2 separate regions of the Homo sapiens genome follow, and region 1 is linked to region 2. Evidence: promoter capture Hi-C in 16 types of primary human blood cells and fetal thymus (Javierre and others, 2016). All regions are on one chromosome and are shown on one strand. The core of a region is centred on a gene start or on the middle of the fragment in contact, and the rest is flanking DNA. Distances in the headings are between cores, read along the strand shown. Region 1 overlaps DCHS2 (dachsous cadherin-related 2). Region 2 holds the start of DCHS2 (dachsous cadherin-related 2).

Region 1 (4,104 bases), core at 975-3,474, 130 kb before region 2:
TATTAGAAGTTGAGGGGCTAGAAAACATGTAACTCCCATATTTGTTATTAATTGTTTACTATATATAAATATGCATATATGTAATATATGTGTGTATCATAATTCATGTTATTTATTAATAATAAATAATAAAATCATAAATAAAATGAATAACTCTCTTTGCCTATATATTGGTCAGAGTAAAATTTATGACACTATATTTTAATACTTTAAAGTACAGTGATTATTTAGCTCACATTTTTCATGACACTTGCAAATGGTAATTAACCACCAGTGCAGGGACAAACATTAACTTTAAAAAACGTCATTAATTAACTTACAGAGCACTGGTTATTTTCTATTTTAATGACTGCTTGGATTTATACATACCAATTATCATATATAATGTTTGTCTATGCTCTTCACCTTGTCACTTTTTATTTAAATAGAGGAAACTGTTGTAATCAAAAAATGTTTTGAACAGATGCAGTACTAAGTGAACTTAAAGATATATATATACGTACATAATCATGCTCTTCTACTAACTAAGCAATACTGACTTTCAGAATAAAATATCCTGGAAAATGGAATTTTTAACCAAGGTAGCAATTCATAATTAGAAAATAATCAGTAAATCATTACTAAAATTATAAGCCATGAAATAGTTAGCAACAAAAATAAGCACAAAATCATGACCTTCAACAGATACGGAGTTTAAAAGTGAGGTTCTCTCACAAACAGATACAAACCAAAAGCTACAGGATATCAATACCATTTTCTTCTTAGTTGTAGATATTTATGAAGTATCTCCTATATTCAGTTTGTGAGAATATAAAAACTTATTTACCAAATAGATTACACTGTGCTATTTATTTTGCACACAAATCTTAGCGACTAAGTAGTATTGGCTGAAAAAACTAGAATGGATTTGAAATTCTATCTCATATTGAGAATTTTAAAAAATTCTTAAGAAAAAAATGTACCTGTTTTGGAAAAGTCCACTGAGTTCTACTTACTCAATTGGAAAGAGTAAATAAAATTCAACAGATAATTTGGTGTTTAGGTAGTCTTATAAAGAAATTCCTGTCACAATGAGAGGTCATTTTTCTATCTTATTTAGTTGAATCAGTAGAACCTATATTTATCTTAGCTTCATCTTTAGTGTTTTTTTTTAAGTCATAATTATGAAACAAGCCTTGAAATGGAAGTGCAAGAAGTAAATTCAAGTGTCAGGTTTACTACTGTGTCTTTGAGTAAGTCACTAAGAATTTTAGAGTCTTCAGTCTCTTAATCTGCAAATGAACATAAAAATATTTGCCATGTTTATCCCATGTAATTAATGTAAGACTCAAATAGGCAATATTACATATGGAAAAGACACTGAAAACTATTATTATCTGAGACAGAGCAGCACAGGAACAGATCACAGGTTTAGAATGGGATTCAAGTCCAATGCCACCATCACCAACAGTGTACCTTTAGATAAGTCATCAAATCCCTTCCAGCCTCAATTTCTTCCTCCACTAAATGAGGCAGCTAATTTGTAAGGTTCTTTCCATCTTTATAAGTCTGTGATCTGGTACGAGAAACCTAATGAAGAAATTCTCTAACATGCTTTTGTTTCCTATGAAAGTAACGTACACTGATTAGGTGCTCATGATTAATTTTAGACTCTGTCTTGCAAATAAGAGAAAGTCATCATTTATTTGGCAGGAACAGGCTCACATCCCTTATGAAATGAGGTGTGGTATTAATTTATTAACTGTATACCAGAATGTTCAACGTTAAATGTAGGAAGGTGGCGTTTGTGAAGAATTACAAGAATCATTACATGGTATAAAATCTGAGCATAAAACTAACATTGGAAAAGAATCTGCCCTTGAAATACAGAAAACAAGTCTGTACTACATTACTTACAGTCTATGTTAAAATCACACACCCCATACAAACAAAAGATTACAACTAAACACTGAGGAACAGCTGCCCTTGTCTGGCAGTTTGATATCCTTTCAATTACTTGTTTTTCTGTAGTGCTAAACTTGGATTTTGTGTACACCACAACTAAACATAGAACAGACAAAGGCTAAGCCACATAAGCTTGTTGCTGTAAGTGCTACAAGAGCAGGGATTCTTGTCTGTTTTATTCACTGATGTATCCCAAACACCTAGAACACGGCCTGCTGCATCATAAGCACTGAATAAATATGTATTGAACAGATGAACTGGCTTCCATTTATTCCTTGAATAGATAAGCTACATTCTGTTTATGACTTTTATTGATTTGCATTTATATCATTAACATGCTTCTATAGAAAAAGAGATAAACCACAAGATTTAACCAATGGTTGCCTGAATAAAAGAGATAGTTTGGGATGAAAATAAATGACCAGCACAAAAGCTTGAAACCTGCCTGTTGCCTTAAAATGATCTGAATTCCTCAAACCTCAAACCTTGGCATTATGCATTATACCCAGGTAACTTCACCTGCACATGTATCCCCTGAATCTAAAATAAAAGTTGAAAAAAAAGTAGTTTCTTCCAGTGTAAAACTACAGAATAAATAGGACAAACCCCAAAGCTAAAGAACTGCTCTTTTAATGTTACTAAAGAGAGCACTTCAAACGATGGAGGAAGAAATCTACATATAATTCACAAAATGGGATTAAAAATACATGAAAAAAGAGCTATTAATAAATATGTCTCTTGTGTTTCTTCCCGTTAAAACTCAAAACAGTGTGGTCTGCCTTGTGCCCACATCAAAGAAAGCCAGTGAACTAAGAATAAGAGAAATGAAGGCTCAACTCAGTATCTCTCTCGTGGCGCCTAAACACATTTTACAAAAATGTTCTTTGAACCAGCAACAAACCCAGAAAACTAGAAACAGAACAGGAAGATAAACCCACAAGAGAAAACAACCATGACATCGCCACACCCCCTTCTAGTTTTCTCCAAAACATTTTTCATACCAGATGAACACAGTAAGTCAAACAGCTCTATTTTTAAATGCATGAGTCTTGGTTGTGGCATAATAGATCAATGAGAAATCTTTTGTCTTCAGGAAAACACAAGCCTATAACAGAAAGCATGTAAGTTTATAAAATAGCATGTCTGATAAAGAAAGCATCAAAATGAAAGAATGAATGAACCAGTGTGCAAATGAAATCTCTAAGAGAGAATTCTAGAGTAATTCAGGAAGAAGTAGCAATGTATAAATGGGCTCATCAATTCTCAATCTTCTTCTCATATGACATAACATCTCAACCTGCCTATATAAGAACTTAGGATAAAAAGGAAGAAGGAAAATTAAAAGGTGTTGAGACTAGCTTGAACAATTCCCATTGTCAAGGCCAGACAGGTATTCTGGAAGAGAATAGAAAAATCCAGAGACAAAGGGAGGTAACAAAAAGTAAAGTGCCAGCACAGGTAGGCTGGAGAGAAAGTCTAGGGAGAGTTTTGAGGAAACGTGGGGATAGGCCATAGAGTCACTTACCATGCTGTGATTCAGAAAGAGGATTTTAAATAAAGTTTTGCTCCATATATCAATGAAACTCCCATGAAATTTTTAAGAGGCTGTAGGAAGGATTTAAGTTACTTTTGCAATATTTCTAGATGTTATTTATTCATTTATTCCACAAATATATGATGGGGGCACTTTCTTAGGACTGTGTTTACACTGGCAGCCTCTGTAGAGATCGGCCATATGATGGGAGCAAGAAAGTCCAGCTTTATGTAGATTCCTGAAAGAAAATATCCAGAAGAGGAAGACTACAGTTGAGCCTTGAATAACATGGGTTTGAATTGCGTGAGTCCACTTATACACAGATAGTTTTCAATAACAGTTACAAGTATGCCTGCCTCTCCTGCCTGCCCTTTCCTCCGTCTCTACCACCTCCGACACCCACGAGACCGAAAGACCAACCCTTCTCCTTCCTCTTCCTCCTCGGCCATCTCAACATGAAGATGATGAGGATGAAGACCTTTACTTAATGAATAGTAAATATATTTTCTCTTCTTGATGATTTCCTTAATAATAACTTCCCATCTCTAGCTAACTTTATTGTAAGAATACAGTATATAATACATAAAACACACAAAAGATGTGTTAACCCACTATTTATGTTATGG
Region 2 (3,729 bases), core at 496-2,995:
GTCGCCCGGTCGGGCGCCTTCAGAGACACGGGCGACGCCTCCCTCTGTGAGAAAGAGCACGTGAATTGCTGGCCGGTTGTCATTCACGTCCAGCACGGCGATGGACACGCGCACCGTGGCAACCTCAGGCTCGGCGCCTCCATCGCGGGCCTCCACCACCAACTGGTGCCAGGCCTGTGCCTCGCGGTCCAGAGGTCTCCACACTCGCACCACGCCGCTCAGCTCCTCCACCGCGAAGTAGGCCGCGTCGCCCAGTGCCCCGCCGCCGCTACCCGCCCCAGGCACTTGCCGGGCGCGGACGCTGTAGCGCACGAAGCCATTGGGCCCCAGGTCGCGGTCGGTGGCGCGCACGCGACAGACCTCGGCGCCCGGCTGGGCGTCCTCGCGCACCGCGGCGCGGTACTCGTCCTGCTCAAAGACCGGCGGGTTGTCGTTCTCATCCAGCACGCGCAGCTCCACGCTCAGGAGGCCGGTGCGCCGGGGTCGGCCGCCGTCCCATGCCTCGATCTGCAGCCGGTGCGCCGCCGCCTCCTCTCGGTCCAAGCGCCGCAGCAGCACCAGATCTAGAGGCTCCAGGGGTGACGAGGAGCCTGGCAAAAGCGGTGACGGTAGTGGCCCCGGAGTCCGGTAGCGCAACTGGAAGAACGGGCCTGCGGGGTCCTTGGGCAGGTCGGACGGTTGCACCAGGGTGTAGCCCTGAGTGCTGAACAGTCCGGCGTCCGGATCGTGGGCAACTGGCAGGCGGAAGGCGGTCCCTGGCGGGCTGAGCTCGGAGACGTCGAGTTGCAGGGAGTCGAGGGGAAAGCGGGGCGAGTGGTCATTCACGTCGTTGACGCGAATCTCCACCTGCACCACAGCGCCCAGCAGCGTGGCGGCGACGAAGCTGTAGTGGTCCCGCCGCTCGCGGTCCAGGCGCCGCGCAGTGCGGATGATGCCGGTGTCCGGGTGCACGTGGAAGTCGTCCAGCAGCGGGGAGTCATCGGAGTCCTCCGACAGAAAGAAGCCGCTCCCCTCCTGCTGCTGCGCGGCCGGCAGCCCGGCGCGGATGTCACCTACCAGCGTGTCCGGGGGAAGCCCCTCATCTACGGAAAGGGTGAGGTTGAACAACTGGGCAGAGGAGCCCGAGGCCGCCCACAGCCACACGTGCACCAAGAGCCAGAGCAGGGAGCGCTGCGTCCTGGCGCCGCTGCTGCCTGACCGCCCATGGGGTGTATCTCTCCTCCCGGGGAGCAGAAGGAGCTTCCCGACCGGAGCCCGCCGCTGCTGACGCCCTTCGCCCATCTTCCGCCCACAAGGGCTCATTTCTCCTCCAGCTCCTTGGGAAGGCTCTCGGGTAACTGCCAGCTTGTGGCAGGATCGCAGAAAAATCCAGGAGCCTCTTCAGTGTCTGAGCCAGAGAAGAAAAGACTTTGTTTGGCAAACAAACCGACGGCCCAGGAATTCCCGAGGTTACATCTGCAACTGGTGAAAGCGTCCTCTGCCTGCAGCTCACGCAGACAGGGAAGTAAGCTCTAGCTGCCTCTGCCGCGGCAGCCACCTCTTCTGCCCCTGGATTTCTTTAAACGAATCTCATCTCTTTTTCTCTCTCCTTTTATTCCCTTTACATCTGTTCCTTGTTCTACTCGGCTGGTTGTTCCCCCCTGGTAAAGTCAGGTGCATTATTTCTTTTGCCAAAAAGGAGGAGATTATATGAAGCGCGCACACACAAGGAGAGGATGGGGATCTGGCCGGAGTAGGGGGTGGAGTAAGGGCGTGGAGGCAGGGAGTCAGGGCGCTGGGGAGGAGGGAGAGAGGGAGGGGGGAAGGGAGGTCTGCGGCCCTGTCCGCTGCTCCGGGGGCGGGGCGGTGGTTCCCCACTGTGTCTCCGGGCGCCAGGGACCGCGCGACTCCTGCTCCGACCCAGCCTCCGCCGCCTGCCTTCCCCTCCCTGCCGTGTGATGCGGCGCACACGAGGGCAAACTCCAACCTGCGAGCCGCGCTCTGCAGCAGGGCGGAAGAGGAGCAAATGCAAAAGCACTGGGAGACGTGCACCGCGGGGCGGGTGGGGGACGCGCAGGCGGGGCGTCTGCCTGGGCTTGGCCAAGTGCCAAGTGATGATGGGTGCGGGGAGGTGAGAGGAGCGGCCTCTCCGCGGCCTCCCCCTCCATCCGCTTGACCGTCCCTCTGCAGGCCTGACTCTTGGCTCGCGCTGAGCCAAGAGGGTAGAGGTTATCATCACTTTGGGGTGCCAAACTTGTGTTCTCCATTTGGCGAGAGGGACTCCCGTCCGCAGCGGAAGGACAGATGGAGTCAAAGGCCGATGCATAGCTGGGGCCAGGATGGCTTTAAAGGGGAGAAGGCGGAACTTGGAAAAGCCTTCCAGAAAACCCGAGAAATCTGTGGCACACATGGTGCAAACCACACTTTATTATGCGTGCTACTACCCAGCGACGTGTGAGCCTCTTGTCACTCCCCTCTGCCACCAGGAATGACGACAATATATCCGCCCTGAGAACCCTTTTTCTACATTCAGCGCCATCATAACACTTCCAGGATGTCTGACGATGCTGACTGATGAGCAGAAAGCCCTGGTGGCTGACACCCCGCAAGCCCTCAGCGCTCCCCCACCACCCCTAGGCAAGGAAGTGTGCAAGCGGGATAACTCTACGGATACCACTTTCAAAACTAGCTTCTGTCTGAGCCGAACGCAAATGCCAATAAATAGCCATAGTCGCAGATTTCCCTTCAATTAACTATAATAATCGGTAGAAACTGATCAATGGCCTCTAATAAAGTACGCCTGAGAAAAGACTCTCTGGACTCTTAAAAATGGCTGACCATATTTAGCAAGTGGTTTCTGCAATTTTGCATTTGGGCCTGAGAGAAGAATTAATTTCCTAGATACCGTTTCTCTCCTTTAGGGAGGACCAAAAGCCCTGCATAGTGGTTTCTTGCAGCAACAACAAAATGCCTTTTTAAATGTGCAACGGAGGTGTATGTAATTGCTAATCCACAGCCACACCGTTATCTCTACCTGTGACCAAATAACAATAAAATAATTGACTTTGTAGCATATATGTTACCGAAAATGGGGACATTATTAAAATAAATTCAGCTTTCTTTCCCCCAATGAACTCTCTTTAACCATTAAAGAGATTTGTTATGAGTCTTTAGAGTCTTTTTATCTTCAGTCTCTGCATTTGCACCCTAACTAGTCCCTCCCCTCCCACTCTTGCCCCTTTATAAGTAATTCTTTTCTGTTTTTGCTATTGTTGTTGTTGTTGCTGTTTTGTTTTCTGAGTCAGGATCTCACTCTGTCACCCAGGCTGGAGTGCGGTGGTGCAATCATGGCGCACTGCAACCTCATGGACTCAAGTGATTCCATCACCTCAGCTTCCAGAGTAGCTGGGACTATGGGTGCCCACCACTATACCTGGCAAATTTTATATTATTTTATTAATTTATTTGTTTATTTTTTTTACTTTTGTAGAGATGAGGTCTCACTATATTGCCCAGGCTCGTCTCGAACTCCTGGGGCCAGTCTTCCTGCCTAGGCCTCCCAAAGTGCTGGGATTACAGGCTTGAGCCACCGCAACCAGCCTATAAGTAATTCTTGAACAAGCATCTGGATTAATGTTTTTAAAGCTGTCTCAAATCATATTACCTCCTGCTTAGAACCTGAAATGATTCCATTATACTTAGATTATAATTCAGACTCCTTCAATCAAGCTCCTTTTAGTAGTACAGGAT

The links. The method cuts DNA at HindIII sites, captures the fragments that hold promoters and counts their contacts. A CHiCAGO score of 5 or more calls a contact.
Region 1: a fragment that was not itself captured here is called in contact with the fragment with the promoter of DCHS2 in region 2 in 1 of 17 cell types (naive B cells); the score reaches 6.1 in naive B cells.

Annotation. Positions count from the first base shown.
Region 1 is chr4:154,358,838-154,362,941 of GRCh38, forward strand. The region is part of intron 3 of DCHS2 (dachsous cadherin-related 2); the gene reads right to left. Among named protein-coding and RNA genes, the nearest start is that of DCHS2, 130 kb to the right of the region's middle. The HindIII fragment of the contact is 301 bases long and covers 2,075-2,375 here.
Region 2 is chr4:154,490,054-154,493,782 of GRCh38, forward strand. It overlaps DCHS2 (dachsous cadherin-related 2), which reads right to left and starts at 1,746. Exons shown (of 20, transcript NM_001358235.2): 1 at 1-1,746. The coding sequence starts at 1,302. RefSeq lists enhancers at 1-530, 531-1,486, 955-1,094, 1,145-1,324, 2,127-2,176. The HindIII fragment of the contact is 6,491 bases long and covers 1-3,729 here.